Linked DNA regions of Homo sapiens: region 1 is linked to region 2. Evidence: promoter capture Hi-C in 16 types of primary human blood cells and fetal thymus (Javierre and others, 2016). All regions are on one chromosome and are shown on one strand. Each heading gives the region's core, a stretch centred on a gene start or on the middle of the fragment in contact. The rest is flanking DNA. Distances are from core to core; before and after follow the strand shown. Region 1 overlaps MCPH1 (microcephalin 1). Region 2 holds the start of DEFA6 (defensin alpha 6).

Evidence for each region. Contacts are between HindIII fragments. The CHiCAGO score rates a contact against its expected background, and 5 or more counts as called.
Region 1: a fragment that was not itself captured here is called in contact with the fragment with the promoter of DEFA6 in region 2 in 1 of 17 cell types (monocytes); the score reaches 5.1 in monocytes.

Annotation. Positions count from the first base shown.
Region 1 is chr8:6,453,143-6,460,371 of GRCh38, reverse strand. MCPH1 (microcephalin 1) reads right to left here. Exons shown (of 14, transcript NM_024596.5): 9 at 5,120-5,229. Among named protein-coding and RNA genes, the nearest start is that of MCPH1, 50 kb to the right of the region's middle. The HindIII fragment of the contact is 3,675 bases long and covers 1,243-4,917 here.
Region 2 is chr8:6,924,085-6,930,915 of GRCh38, reverse strand. DEFA6 (defensin alpha 6) reads left to right here and starts at 4,840. Exons shown (of 2, transcript NM_001926.4): 1 at 4,840-5,073; 2 at 5,989-6,219. The coding sequence starts at 4,881. The coding sequence ends at 6,098. RefSeq lists an enhancer at 6,495-6,831. The HindIII fragment of the contact is 287 bases long and covers 4,693-4,979 here.

The sequences.
Region 1 (7,229 bases), core at 1,831-4,330, 470 kb after region 2:
GGAATAGCAGGGACTGAAAAATAATACATGTTAAAACTCAGTATATGGATTTAGCATCAGAATAGACTTAAAAAGAGTCAAAGGTGAAATGGAAAAGAAACCAATAGAAGACATCCAGAATGAAATAAGGAGATACAAGAGGAAAGAAATAGAGGAAAATCATGAGACATGGGCTATAGAAGCAAAGGATAGCACACGAGATTGCGTTCCCAGCAATGGAGGCGTGAGAAAACAGGCAAAAGAAATCACAGTGGAGAAGTTTCCAGAACAGATCAAAGACAGGACGGCCTGTGACTCTCAAGTAAATAAACAACAAAAACAATACCCTGGTACAACAATCACAATGAACCTACAGAAAACCAAAGATGAGAGCAGTCTAACCCCAGAGCCCGTGGCCGTGGCTGAAGTCAGCCTCTCTCTTCTCGCGGTTCTGCATCCATCCCCGGGCCACACCAAGGCCGTGCTGCTCTTCGCACAGGCTCCAGGCCTTCCCACCTTTCTTGCCTTTGTACCTTCTACCTGGCACCTTCACATTACTCAGAACTCACGACTGACAGCTCTCATCGACTGACAGTCCTGTCTGCAGGGCTGCCCAGATAGGACATTACCTGCAAGTGCTACTTCAGATTTAAAACTAAAAAGAAAATAAAGTCATTAGGGCCACGGGACACATCTGAGTTTCAAATCATTTTCCTCACTACAGAAATAGCATGTAGGCTGGCTCTCAAGTGAAAACATAAAAATGTCAGGCCCAGACCTTACTGTTCTCCATTCTAGTAGAGGCATTGCTTCAGTCATTAGCTGGTGAAAGATATTTCCTGTAAACTCTCCCTTTTTCAACATTAATATTCAATTACAAGATTTTGTTTTCTTTAGGAAATAGAAACAATTTTGTGCTTAATAGAATCTAATACCTTAATATGTCCTTATACATAAAAATATGTGGCGTGCACCTGTAGTCCCAACTACCTGGGAGGCTGAGGCAGCAGAATCGCTTGAACCCGGGAGGCAGAGGTTGCAGTGAGCCAAGACTGTGCCATTGCACTCCAGCCTGGGTGACACAGCGAGACTCCATCTCAAACAAACAAACAAAAAAGGCCGTGTTAAGTTCCAAATTTCAGTTTAACACAGTTTATCTTGAAATCTAACAAGGAACAAAATAAGCAGGTAAAACCTATTTAATGGGAAAAAAAGAATGGTTGAGATACTAACATTATATTTGTAGGCTGCTACTCAGAAGCTTCTAATTTTAATTCACCAATTCAATCCTTCCACAATTCCACTGTATACTTTTAAAACCAGGAAACTAAATTTTAGTGTTTCTGTGGACTCATTACCACATATCAACATAAACTTCTCTCCCCATGCTCATATCAAAAGATCTCAAACTACTGGGAAGTTATATACTTAAAATTTAATGTTGCTGGCTAGGTGCTGTGGCTCACGCCTGTAATTCCAGCACTTTGGGAGGGCCAAGGAAGGCAGATCACTTGAGGTCAGGAGTTCGAGACCAGCCTGGTCAACATGGTGAAACCCCATCTCTACAAAAAACTTAAAAAATTAGCCAGGCGTGCTGGCGGGTGCCTGTGGTTCCAGCTACTAAGGAGGCTGGGGCAGGAGAATCGCTTAAATTCAGGAGGCGGAGGTTGCAGTGAGCCGAGATAACACCAGTACACTCTAGCCTGGGCATCAGAGTGATACTCCATCTCAGAAAAATAAAATAAAATAAAATAAATTTAATGTTACCTTTTAAGAAATTTATATCATTCTTCCTTCTAACCTGTAAAATAATAAAACACGTCCTTCATCTATATTGCTATCAAATTTGCGCTCCTAAAACACTCACTCAACCTTTAAGCAAACAAATCAGGAATTTTTTTTTTTCTTTTTTTTTTTTTTTGAGAAGGAGTCTCACTCTGTTGCCCAGGCTGGAATGCAGTGGCACGATCTCAGCTCACTGCAATCTCCGCCTCCCGGGTTCATGCCATTCTCCTGCCTCAGCCTTCCGAGGAGCTGGGACTACAGGCGCCCGCCACTACGCCCAGCTAATTTTTTGTATTTCTAGTAGAGACGGGGTTTCACCGTCTTAGCCAGGATGGTCTTGATCTCCTGACCTCATGATCTGCCCACCTCAGCCTCCCAAAGCGCTGGGATTACAGGTGTGAGCCACCGCACCCAGCCCGCAAATCAGGACTTTAAGCCTTGGTCTTTAATTTTAGAGTCTAAAAATGAAACAACTTTACATGAGAAATGTTTATAAAGAAATGAAACTTCTTCTAGGATAAATTACTTGTTTAAATTCTAAAAGTCCCAAGGCTGTAGTTTCCAAACTCTGCTTTGCATTAGAATCACCTCAGGAGTTTAAAAAAATCCTAGTGGCCAGGGTGCACCCCATATTAATGACACCAGCATGTCTGGCTTGGGGCCAGGCAGCCACAAACCTTACAGATCCCCAGGTGAGTCCAATGCGCAGCCCAGTCAGGAAGCACTACCCTAGGGCATTAGGAGTTTTTGATTCATTCAAGCAAAGGCTGTGCGGTGAACACTAATAAGGACTGGATTAGGAAGAAAATCCTGCGAAAGAGGGGAAACCTAGGTCTTGCTCCTTCTGCTATTGGCGAGACGCAATACAGAAGGTGGATTCTTCGCCCTCACTAGGTGTTCGTCCCCTCCACGTTAAGGACGGGGTGCCGCACTGGGGTCGGGAGCTGCTGGCCAGGAGGGTCTCAGGTGGGGCCAGAAAATCAGCATTTATTTATTTATTTTTGAGACAGAGTCTCACTCTGTCGCCCAGGCTGGAGTGCAGTGGCATGATCTCGACTCACTGCAACCTCCCCTTCCTGGGTTCAGGTGATTCTCCCACCTCAGTCTCTTGAGCAGCTGGGATTACAGGTGCCCACCACCAGGCCTGGCCAATTTTTGTGTTTTTTGTAGAGACGGGATTTTGCCATGTTGGCCAGGGTTTTGCCATGTTGGCCAGGCTGGTCTCGAACTCCTGACCTCAAGTGATCCGCCCGCCCCAAAGTACCGGGATTATAGGCATGAGCCACCATGACTGGCCCAGAAAATCTGCATTTAAAACCTGCTTTGAGTGATTCTTCACACAGAACCAGAAGTGGTGGATTCGTTTCAGAAATGACATTCTAAATTATGAGGGCAAAGTTTACTAATACTCTTAAAATATTTTTAAAAGAAGACTTAAATTTGAGCAAGTTAGGCAGTTTAATATATGAAAATATTTTTGTTCCTGAGCACAGCAGTTGAAGGCAGATATGGAGGTGTGTATTTGTAATTGTGTATTTTGTCTCCCTCTCTGACCACTCATTCTTTTATCATTACTCAAGACAGTAATACCACCTTATATTTATGGAGCACTTACTATTTGATCTACAGAAGAATGCCAGAAGGTCAAACAGGTACCCATCTCCCATTCATATGCCATTTACAGTGAGATGCCTCATAAGGAAGAAGGGGCCACACTCCCGCCCAGGATGCCTGTCCCTAACCCAGTGCTTCCACAGACCCAGCCCATCAGATTCAGGGCTATCCCAGGCACAGGGAGGCAATACCACTCGTCTGAAACAGTAACTTCCACTGTGGGCAAATGAGAAAGTCAAACCTCATGCCTTTTGATCAGACAGGACGGAGTATTTTTATGGTGAGTAACAAGTAACTCAACACTCAATATTTACTGAGCACTTAAAAAAAAAAAAAGCCAGACATGGTACAACGTAGAGTACCAATAGAGATGAGAGGTACCACGGCTTCCCTGGGCAGACACTGGCAGAGGGTAAAGGGTCAGTAAAGCGGGAGGGCACAGAACAGAGCTGTGGTGCCATGCGACGCATCAGCAGGAGAGGCACGGGAACGGTAGTAGATGCAAAGGAAACTGGTTCTTTATTTCTTTCCAAATGAACTAGGTCAAGCGGCCATGTAGCAGTAGGAAGAAGACTGAGAAACTGGGACGCAAAACACAAACTCAGCCACAGTGTTGCGAGCGTTCTAGGAAGGGCCCCACCCCTGGGAGGCAGCGCGCTGAGCAGGTCCCGCAGGCTGCAGTGGAGTCACAGTGCGCAACGCCATTGTAGAGCAGGTGCCTTGGTGTTGCCCACGCCACAAACATGTTATGGGACCCTGACAGTCTCTCTCTCTCCACATCTGTTGCTTTACCTGAAATAGGGTTCCTTTCCATTTTCTTGCTCCACTTTTTTTTCCGAGACAAACCAGAAAGCATCAGTAAAGAAATCTAAGTTTCTACAAGTTACTGCCAACTTTCATGAAATCTGTGTAATTTTAAATGTCTTTTAACCATTGCCAAGATAAGAAGCAAAGGAGTCAGGTTTCTCTTCCGCAGGTCAAATGCAGCCGCCCATCTGTTCAAGCCTGCGTATCAGGACCTGGAAGCCCCATGCAGACCCATCTACTCTGTCATTCTTTTCATCTGTTGCTTTTCAATCGGTATGGTTTTTCCCTACCATTCTGAATTCAGGTTTCACTACATTATACTTTTTTGGCCTCATAAAAATGAGGCACAAGGTATAATATATATGGCTAATTTTAAATTTAAGCAATGCAAGTAGATATTGAATGATAAAAACATTTAAAATCCTCATTCTATTACTCATGTAAGAGGATCAGCGGAGTCTTTCAGAGGAAGAGCAAGGTTTTAAAGCCAAAACCACAAAGGGAAGGGTGTACCTGAGTGTTAGTATATAAACCTTTCACTCTGATGGCTTGAGGTCAAGACTTGGTTAGTTCAAAAGTGAATGAATGTTTGGATTCTTCACCTCCTACCTAGTAAATATTTATTCCGATTATAAAATGGCAAGAAACACTGGCACAACCAACATTCTCTGCTTGAGAGAAGCTACAGGCATTTTTATAAGAAATGCATTAGCAAAGTGATATGAGAAAGCTTGCTCTATCAATAATAACTCTTTGTCTGGAATGCAAACAACGCTTTCAGTTTCATATTCTGAGTTTTCCAGCATTTACCCATAATCAATTTTTTAGAATAAAAGACAAGTCAGATAGACTGGTTTATGTTTCATTGACCCAGAGAAGAACATTATGATGTATCAGCATTTGAAAGTTTAAAATAATATTTTTACACACTGACCTTTTTGCCTCTCCCACTTTTCTTCAATTCCTCATGAGGTTTGATGAGGTCCTTAAAGCCGTCACATGAGTCATCTAAAACATCATGCCTTGTTGGTCTATTTTTAACACCTAAAACCCAAGGGGATTAAAAATTAGTTAGAACTTTACATGGACCAAATACAACTTAAGCAAAACAAAAATCACATTTATGCATAATGGAAACAGGAAGTTATAGGCCTTTTAAATAAATTGTATATATCTGGCTCTTTGAGATCTATCTAGAACTTTCAGTTTATTACATTCCAATATCCCAAGCAATTCACTTAATTCAATGGTCGGTAACAATCAGGTTACAGTGTTCTACAGCATCAACTCCGTCCATTTGATAATGTAAGAAAATGTATACCCATACCTTACGCACTCGTCAAACTTAAATTCTTAGATTTTAAAATAATGACAAAGAACAGCTCTTCAGAGTAGGCAGTTCCATATTAGAGGCAATAATTAATCTAACTTTTGGGGTCAGTTTGAGATTTTCTAGAAAATAGTCTTCAGTACAGAGCTTCAGGCTTCAACCTACAAATGATGGATGATGATTTTACTCCCCCCAAGTTTCCACCTTAGACCAGCGTCTTGCCATGAAGACACACAAACCAAAAGGATACTCATTCAAGTGAAATGTGGTTTCCTTAGATGCTAACCTCTGTAGACCTAAGTAACCCACGATGAAATGTGAAATGTGTACTTTGATTTGACTCATCTACTGCCTCAGAGGGTGCCTCTTACTCTCACCCTTCCTCCTCCTTCAAACAGTTTGCCTACTTTATGACTTACATGGGATTTTGAAGGAGGAGCTAACATGGACCATAACATGGTCTCAATGGTATAATGCAAACTTTGACGCAAAAGTTATGTAGCAGCCTAGGGGGTACTAGAACCTGCCAGGCAGGTGATAGCCAAACTGCACTGTTGATTACCTAATGATTAACAAATAGCTAATCATCTACCCACTGGAGATGCAAAATGCACAAGATATAGTCCCACACTTAGGGAGCTCACAACCCAATAGACAATGTAGATGCAGATGAATAAATATAATGCAACGTGAAATTAACATCAGTGCCCTCAGAGATTAAAAATCATATAACATGAGAAAGACTTCTTTGCAGATAAAATGCTATAAAGCCAGCTATAACTAAGTTTGGAGAGTCTAAGGTAAAAACTGTCACTCTTTTCAAAAACAGGGTCCTATCTCAGTGAAAAAGGATGTAGAATAAAAATGTTAATACTTTCCTGAATTCAAGCTAGTTGTTATTTGCAGCCTGGGCCCTGGACAGATTTTAAGGTCCAGTTCTAAACCACAAACCTACCAACCTACACTCTTTGCCATAATCCCTAATACTGAATCCACTCGAGACTCAAACCAGTCACATCCTGACTGATCCCGTACCTCCTCAGGTATCTTTTATGGTTGACTTGCACTGACTTTTCTCCCAGGCCCACTTTATCCCCCGGGGTAGAACATGAATGCAATCTCCTATCGTCTTTAAGATTAAAAATAATTAGAATTATTAATTATATCTACTACGCACTTATTTTCCTTTTTAAATAACAAATATTTACTTGAAGCATGAGTGTGTCAAAATCGGAAAAGCAGTGGACTAGAGATATAATTTGGGACGTAGTGCTCTGTTATTGAGTCATGAATAAATTTGCAGCTTCCTAGTGTATTCAATAAAAGTTTTATAATAGCCACTTGCCTCAGTTCTTGCCGAACAACGAAACAGGCTGTAAAGCATTTTATAAACATAAAGTTCTAAGAAATGCAACACAATCTTTTAAAACTTAAGAAAGACTGATATTAAAAAAAAAAAAGACTGATATTGTTAACATGTTTTCACAATTTCACAAATCCTGAAGTCAAAAAATGATCTAAGTAAATGATTTTATTTAAAACATTTCATAAACTCTGCCACACTAATTTGCCAGTGGGTTTTAACATTGACATCGGTAAACCCAAAGCAGTTGAGAGTGCAAAGTACTTCTGAAAACATTTGTGGAAAGATTAGTTGGACTCCACTTTTGGCAGGAGGTCTGTAAACAAACACCTACCCTCCTCTTCCTGACTC
Region 2 (6,831 bases), core at 3,591-6,090:
TCATACCTTGGCAATTTGGGCCTGGCTCAGAGGAGAGGTTCTGCTGGGATCTGAGGAGCTCAGGGCTGAGACACTCGCGCACAGGTGGCAGGCAGTGCTGGCTCAGCTGGGAGCTCTCACAGGGCTGAGGGATGGGACCTTGTGATGCGCTGGGGCCAGATCATGCCGGCTCATGAGAAAGGTGGTTTGTGTGACATTTTTTAAACGGTCCAGAGCTGGGAGGATTCTAACCACAGAAATTTACAAACACTGTAAATCAGAGTTTTGGTTTTTCCCAGAAAGCTGGCTGTTCTGTGTTCTCTAGCTCACCCTCGCAGGTGCCCTCAGTTCATCTTCCTGTGCGAGGCTGAGGCTTCCTCAAAACACGGTGTCTGGGCCCCCAAGTGACCAGCCCTCTTAGTCCGTTTGAGCCACTATTTAAAAAAAAATACCATAAACTGAGTTGCTTATGAACAACAGATATATTTTTCAGTGTTCTAGAGGTTGAGAAGTCCAAATCAAGGTGGCAGCAGATTTGGTGTCTGCTGAGAACCAGCTTTTTCGTTCATAGATGGCACCTCCTCACTGTGTCCTCACCTGATGGAAGGAATGAAGGAGCTCCTTGGGATCTCTTCTATAAGGACACTAATCCTATTCATGAGGTGCCCTCCGGACCTACTCACCTCCCCAGAGGCACCACCTGTTAATGCTATCACCTGGTGGTTTAATATTTCAATATATGAATTTCAGAGGGACAAAAATATTCCAACTGCAGCGCCATCCAAGACGGTGAAAGTGAAAAATACCAGTGTCTTAGCACCTGGGCCCAGCAAACGGCATGGTACTAAGTCAGGTGCATTCTATTGGTGAAGATGTCACCCGACCTAGATCCAACAGGAAAGAAGTAAACCTCCCTTTCTGTGGGAGAAGAGTCCAAGAATTGGGACCACATTTTAAAACAGCCCAAGAGAGTTATTCTTTCATAGTCATTTGTAAAAATTGCTGCAGGCAACAACACCAGACACATAGACAGCATGTGAGAGGCGGCTGGGAAAGGCAGACAAAGGGCAGGGGACTTGGAGCTCCTGCCTGTCCCAGCTGGATCTGCAGGCCCGGGAGTTGCTGTGTGGCACAGGCAGCACCAGGACCCTCCCTGCAGGGAGGTGGACAAAAGGCTGAGGGGAGGGACAGGGCGGTGCACTCTCAGGGGCTGGGAGATGGACAGTTCTCAGAGCTCACCCCCACGCAGCCCCCGCTCTACCCCACGCTAACACACACACTCTGTTCCAAAACTGCCCTTCCACACTGGGTCAAAACCATGTCCCAGGGCCCTGCCCAAGGTCCACACTCACTGTGTCTGCTGGGGTCACCAGACAGCCTCAGAGAGTGTGGGAATATCCTTGCTGCTGCTGAAGGCCTTTCTCCTCTCACACCCACACCTGCACCCCCACCTGTAGCTTCCCCAGGATATTTACCCCAGCTTGAGGGTGTCAAGGCTCTTGTTGAGTGTCTGAAAGCTGAACTGCATGTGTATGAAGGAACAGTTTCAGTTGTGTCTACACTCAGAGTTGACACTGGTGGCAAGTCCAGGACACTGTGCTGGGGGCAGGGTGGGTGGGGGTGGAAGTGAAAGTGTTGCAAAGACTTTTACATGTAGCACCATTTTTTGCTTAAACCACTGATTTCTGCCAAGGTTCTGGTGCAGCCCAGAAAGAAAGGTGAAAGGGACCACGAGATACAGACTCACTCTGTTCTAATTGGGGTTTGGGAGCCACCTGGGGGAGACAGAGGCAAGGCCCAGGTGAGACCTCAGCACAGACTGAGAACCTGACCTGCCCTGGCTGTCGAGTCCCCACCACAGACTGGGAAGGAGGCAGGGACAGGAGCATTGCCACCCAGGAGAAAGAGCAGAGGCCCCCAGACTCAGGTCCTCAGCCCCGCAGCCAGCACAAGGGGGAACGACATCATGACACTAGGTTAGAGACGGGGCAGGCCAGCCTTCCAGGGCCAGCAGCTACCGCTGACACGGAACCAGCAGCAGTGTATTCTGTGCCCCCTGAACTAATGTTGTAATATGTACACTTTGGGGTGCAGAAGAAAGCAATGTGTTTGCTGAACAGCACTTTACAGCGCTCCCATTTGAAGTCCCTCTTGGGTCAACTCCTGTTTAAGGGCAGGAGGGCCACCTGCTGTCCTTAAGGTGCTACTGCAGTGCTGCGCGCCCAGTTCTCTGTAAGGGCAGGTTCTTCTTTACTGGAAGATAGTGTGGGCTCTGCTAGGTCAGCGTCTGATGTGTGAGGACATCTCAGGGTGGAGGTATGCTGGAGCCACTGAGGACAACAGAGACAGCCCTTGGCCTAAGTCAACTTCATCTCGGTGGCATCTCCAAGATGCTCGGTTCTTATTAGGGCTTCCATGTGGGAGTGGGGTGGGGTTAACTCAAGAAAGGCAGTTAACAGAGATGAGGTCCTCGTGACTGCGGGTCACGGTAGGGAGGTTACTTCTCTTGCAGGAGCCTGATGGCTAAACAAGGGGGAGATATACCTGCCTCGATTTTGTGCATGATCATTGAAAGCTGGATCCTAGAGTAAATGGGCTCTTCAAAATAGAGCTTGTGCTTCAGTATTTGCATGTATGTGACTCTAGGGGCAGGAAGGTAAGTAGAGAGAGGGAAAGGAACTACGTGAAGTTCCCTTGTCCCTGACACCCTTTGATGTTCTACTGTTCTAGAAGTTCTGTTTACTTCCAGGCGTTCCGTCTGTTGGCGTGGTGATTGTGGTGACTTTACAAGCTGCGATATGGATCCTGATAAGCCTTCCTGCACCCCATCTGTCTAAACATTTACCAATGCCCATGGGGATTGGTCTGCATTATCTTCTATTTCAATTAAAATAGGCTGGGAACACTTCTTAGTTTCCAAAGATAGAGCATACAATTCCAAAATGCTCCTTTAAGTCAAGACAAATTAGATCACTTATTTACAGAAGTATCTTGTCCTGTTAGCTAGATCAGGGTATCTGAGTAACAGCTCCAGGGTAGGATTTCCAGGTGATAGAGTAATTATTGCCTGTCCCATGAACTACTGGGGAAAGAGGCATAGACAGCTATAAGTCACAATGGACAATTACAGTTTGGGTTGGAGAGGGAAAGTTTAATTCGAAATTTAGATGTTAGTTAAATGGTCATCTCCTGCTGGGTAAATGAAGGCAAAATTCAAATAAATACAGAACAAATGCATTTTTAAATGCCCATAGATTCCCTAACAAAACTGAAACAAAAATCAAGAAAACAATTCCATGTACAATAGCATCAAAAAATAAAACACCTAGGAAGAAACAAGGAGGTGAAGGATCTACACACTGAAAATGAAAAAAAAAAAAATAGTGAAAGAAATTAAAGAATGTAAAAATAAATGGAAAGATATCCTGGGCTGAAAATTGGAAGAATTAAGATTGTTAAAATGTCTATCCCAAACAAAACAATATACCGATTCAGCACAATTCCTATCAAAATCCCCATGGCATTCTTTACAGAAATAAAAAAAAAAATCCTAAAATTTGTATGAAATGGTGAAAGAACCCAAATAGACAAAACAATTCTGAGAAAAAAAAACAAAGTTGAAGACATCACAATTCCTGGTTTTAAATTATATTACAAAGCTACGGTAATCAAAACAATATGGTATTGGCATAAAACCAGACACATACCAGTGAAATAAAATTGAGAGTCCAGAAACACATCGAAACACATATGGTCAAGTAACTTTTGACAATGGCATGAAGAAGACACAATAGGGACAGGAGAGTCTCTTCAATAAATGGTGGTGGGAATACTATTTCCATATGCAAAACAATAAAACTGGACCCTTCTCTTTTGGCATATACAAAACTTAACTCAAAATGGATAAAATACCTGAATAGAAGACCAGAAACAAGAGACTATGAAAATAATGGTAGAGTTCTATATGTTTTGAGCTACAAAGTATTCAAATTACAGCATTAGGGAGAAAAAACAAAGCACAAACCAATGTTTAATTTTTAAGTGGAGATTTCCTGGAGCAGAGCTGCAGGGCTGGGGCAAGGATGGAGGCTCATTACTCCTTTTACCCTTTGAATGGTCCTTGTGGGCAATTCAACATTTTCTAAAATTAAAAATAAAATAAAATTTCAGAGGGGGATTGTGGGCATGTCAATTGTTTCGATGTTTCTCAAAGTGGAGAGAAATACCTAGTACATATTTTAGTTGATACATTCAGATCACATGGGTTTCTTGAAATAAATCTTTTGGCTTTAGTTTTACTAACTCTTTACCTAGTATCCCACTGAGTTCTTTTCCCTTATAGGCTGATAAGGTCATTATCTTCTCCACACTGTGCCCCACAAGAGCCTATTCACCCCATAATCTCAAAGCCTCCTTCATGAGGGCAGAAATGCCCCCTGAATCCTGCAATGAATTAACTCTCTACTCTAGCGGGATCCAGCTCTGGCCTCAAGGTCTAGACCTCCAGAGAGTGGCCAGCCCCACCTTCAGAAAATAAGAGGCATTTGATTCCTGAAATTATTCATTGAAAGCACTGTTCTTTTCTTTTTTGAATATTAACAAGTAAATATTCCAGCAGATGGAAAACAGGACAATGTAACACTGTTCTTATCATCACTATCAGCTGGGACCAGAACAGACACTCAATAAACAGCCTCACACTACAATGAAGCTTGGAGAACAAAGGAGCATCAAAGGGACATGGAGGGCAAGGGTAGCTCTTCTGCTCCCCAATCACATGCACTCCCCGTCTCACCGCAACATCTGTCCCTGAGCCTTCTCCCAGCAGACCTATAAATCCAGGCTGGCTCCTCACTCCCCACACATCTGCTCCTGCTCTCTCTCCTCCAGCGACCCTAGCCATGAGAACCCTCACCATCCTCACTGCTGTTCTCCTCGTGGCCCTCCAGGCCAAGGCTGAGCCACTCCAAGCTGAGGATGATCCACTGCAGGCAAAAGCTTATGAGGCTGATGCCCAGGAGCAGCGTGGGGCAAATGACCAGGACTTTGCCGTCTCCTTTGCAGAGGATGCAAGCTCAAGTCTTAGAGCTTTGGGTAAGAGACACCAGCATTGCAGAGCTAGGAGTGTAGAGAGGAAAACCAAGCACTTCTAGAATTAGATCCAACAGCTGGCTCTTTCTCTTAGGTGATCACCTCCCCAGGCCTCAATTACTTTATGTTTGTACTGAAAAGGAAGAATCAGTGATATTCAAGGCATGACTTTTCTCTAAAGATTTTTTAATTCTATGATAAGTCTATGAAATTTTCTAATTTTTTGCCATGTAGAAATGTATTGAGGAGTCTCTACTTCAAGGAAGAGAGCCTAATTTTAAAGGAATGTTTTGTTTTGCTTTGTTTTGTTTTGTTTTGTTTGATGGAGTCTCGCTCTGTCACCCAGGCTGGAGTGCAGTGGCACTATCTCAGATCACTGCAACCTCTGCCTCCTGGGTTCACGCAATTCTCTCCCTCAGCCTCCCAAGTCACTAGGATTACAGGCACCAGACACCAAGCCTGGCTAAATTTTGTATTTTTTTTTTTTTCAGTAGAGACGGGGTTTCACCATCTTGGCCAGGCTAGTCTTGAACTCCTGACCTTGTGATAAACCCACCTTGGCCTCCCAAAGTGCTGGGATTACAGGCGTAAGCCACCACATCCAGCTGCTAAAGGAATGTTTTTTAATCTGACTTTTATAGGAACCGTTGCAAACTGGAGACAGTCATATGGGTGCATTCAGATGTGTGTGTGACAGGGAAGGAGCAGATAAGTACAGCATATCAGAATGGCTCTCTAATCCTGTGTGTGACCAACACTGCTCTGCGTATTTATTCCTATTGATGGTGTGATCATGCTATTGGCTGTAATGCAGCCAGCATTACATGTCAGCAAGCATGCAACTTCCTGAAGATTCTCTTTACTGCCCGCTGCTGACCCTGGTGCTCAATTTCTGATGCTCTCTCTCTCTGTCCCCAGGCTCAACAAGGGCTTTCACTTGCCATTGCAGAAGGTCCTGTTATTCAACAGAATATTCCTATGGGACCTGCACTGTCATGGGTATTAACCACAGATTCTGCTGCCTCTGAGGGATGAGAACAGAGAGAAATATATTCATAATTTACTTTATGACCTAGAAGGAAACTGTCGTGTGTCCTATACATTGCCATCAACTTTGTTTCCTCATCTCAAATAAAGTCCTTTCAGCAAGTTCTTTTGTGTTTGTGCTTTTCTGGTGTTTGATAATTCAGGATTCTTCAGATGCAAAAACAAAAACCCAAGTCGTATCTCAGAACACTAGCTCTTCGAAAGAGTTTTCTATGTAGACCAGAGAAGTGGTAGAGAGGATGTTGAGAGAAGAGAGGATTTGGGTTTTTTGTTTTTTTGTTTTTTGCTTTCTGAGATGGAGTCTCGCTCTGTTGCCCAGGCTGCAGTGCAGTGGCACAATCTTGGCTCACTGAAACCTCTACCTCCTGGGTTCAAGTGATTCTCCTGCCTCAGCCTCCCAAGTAGCTGGGATTACAGGTATCCACCACCACGCCAAGTAATTTTTGTATTTTTAGTAGAGACAGGGTTTCACTATGTTGACCAGGCTGGTCTCGAACTCCTGACCTCAAGTGATCCGCCCACCTCGGCCTCCCAAAGTGCTGGGATTACAGGCATGAGCCACCGCACGTGGCCTTAGGCACTCTGTTTTAATGTTAATGCTGGCCAGCTGTGCCTGAATTCCAATGGGAGGAGGATATCATGAGGTATTCCTGATCCCCACGTCCCATCATGGCCTGAACCAGTGTTTGAGGTTAACACTAGAATGCCTTGGGC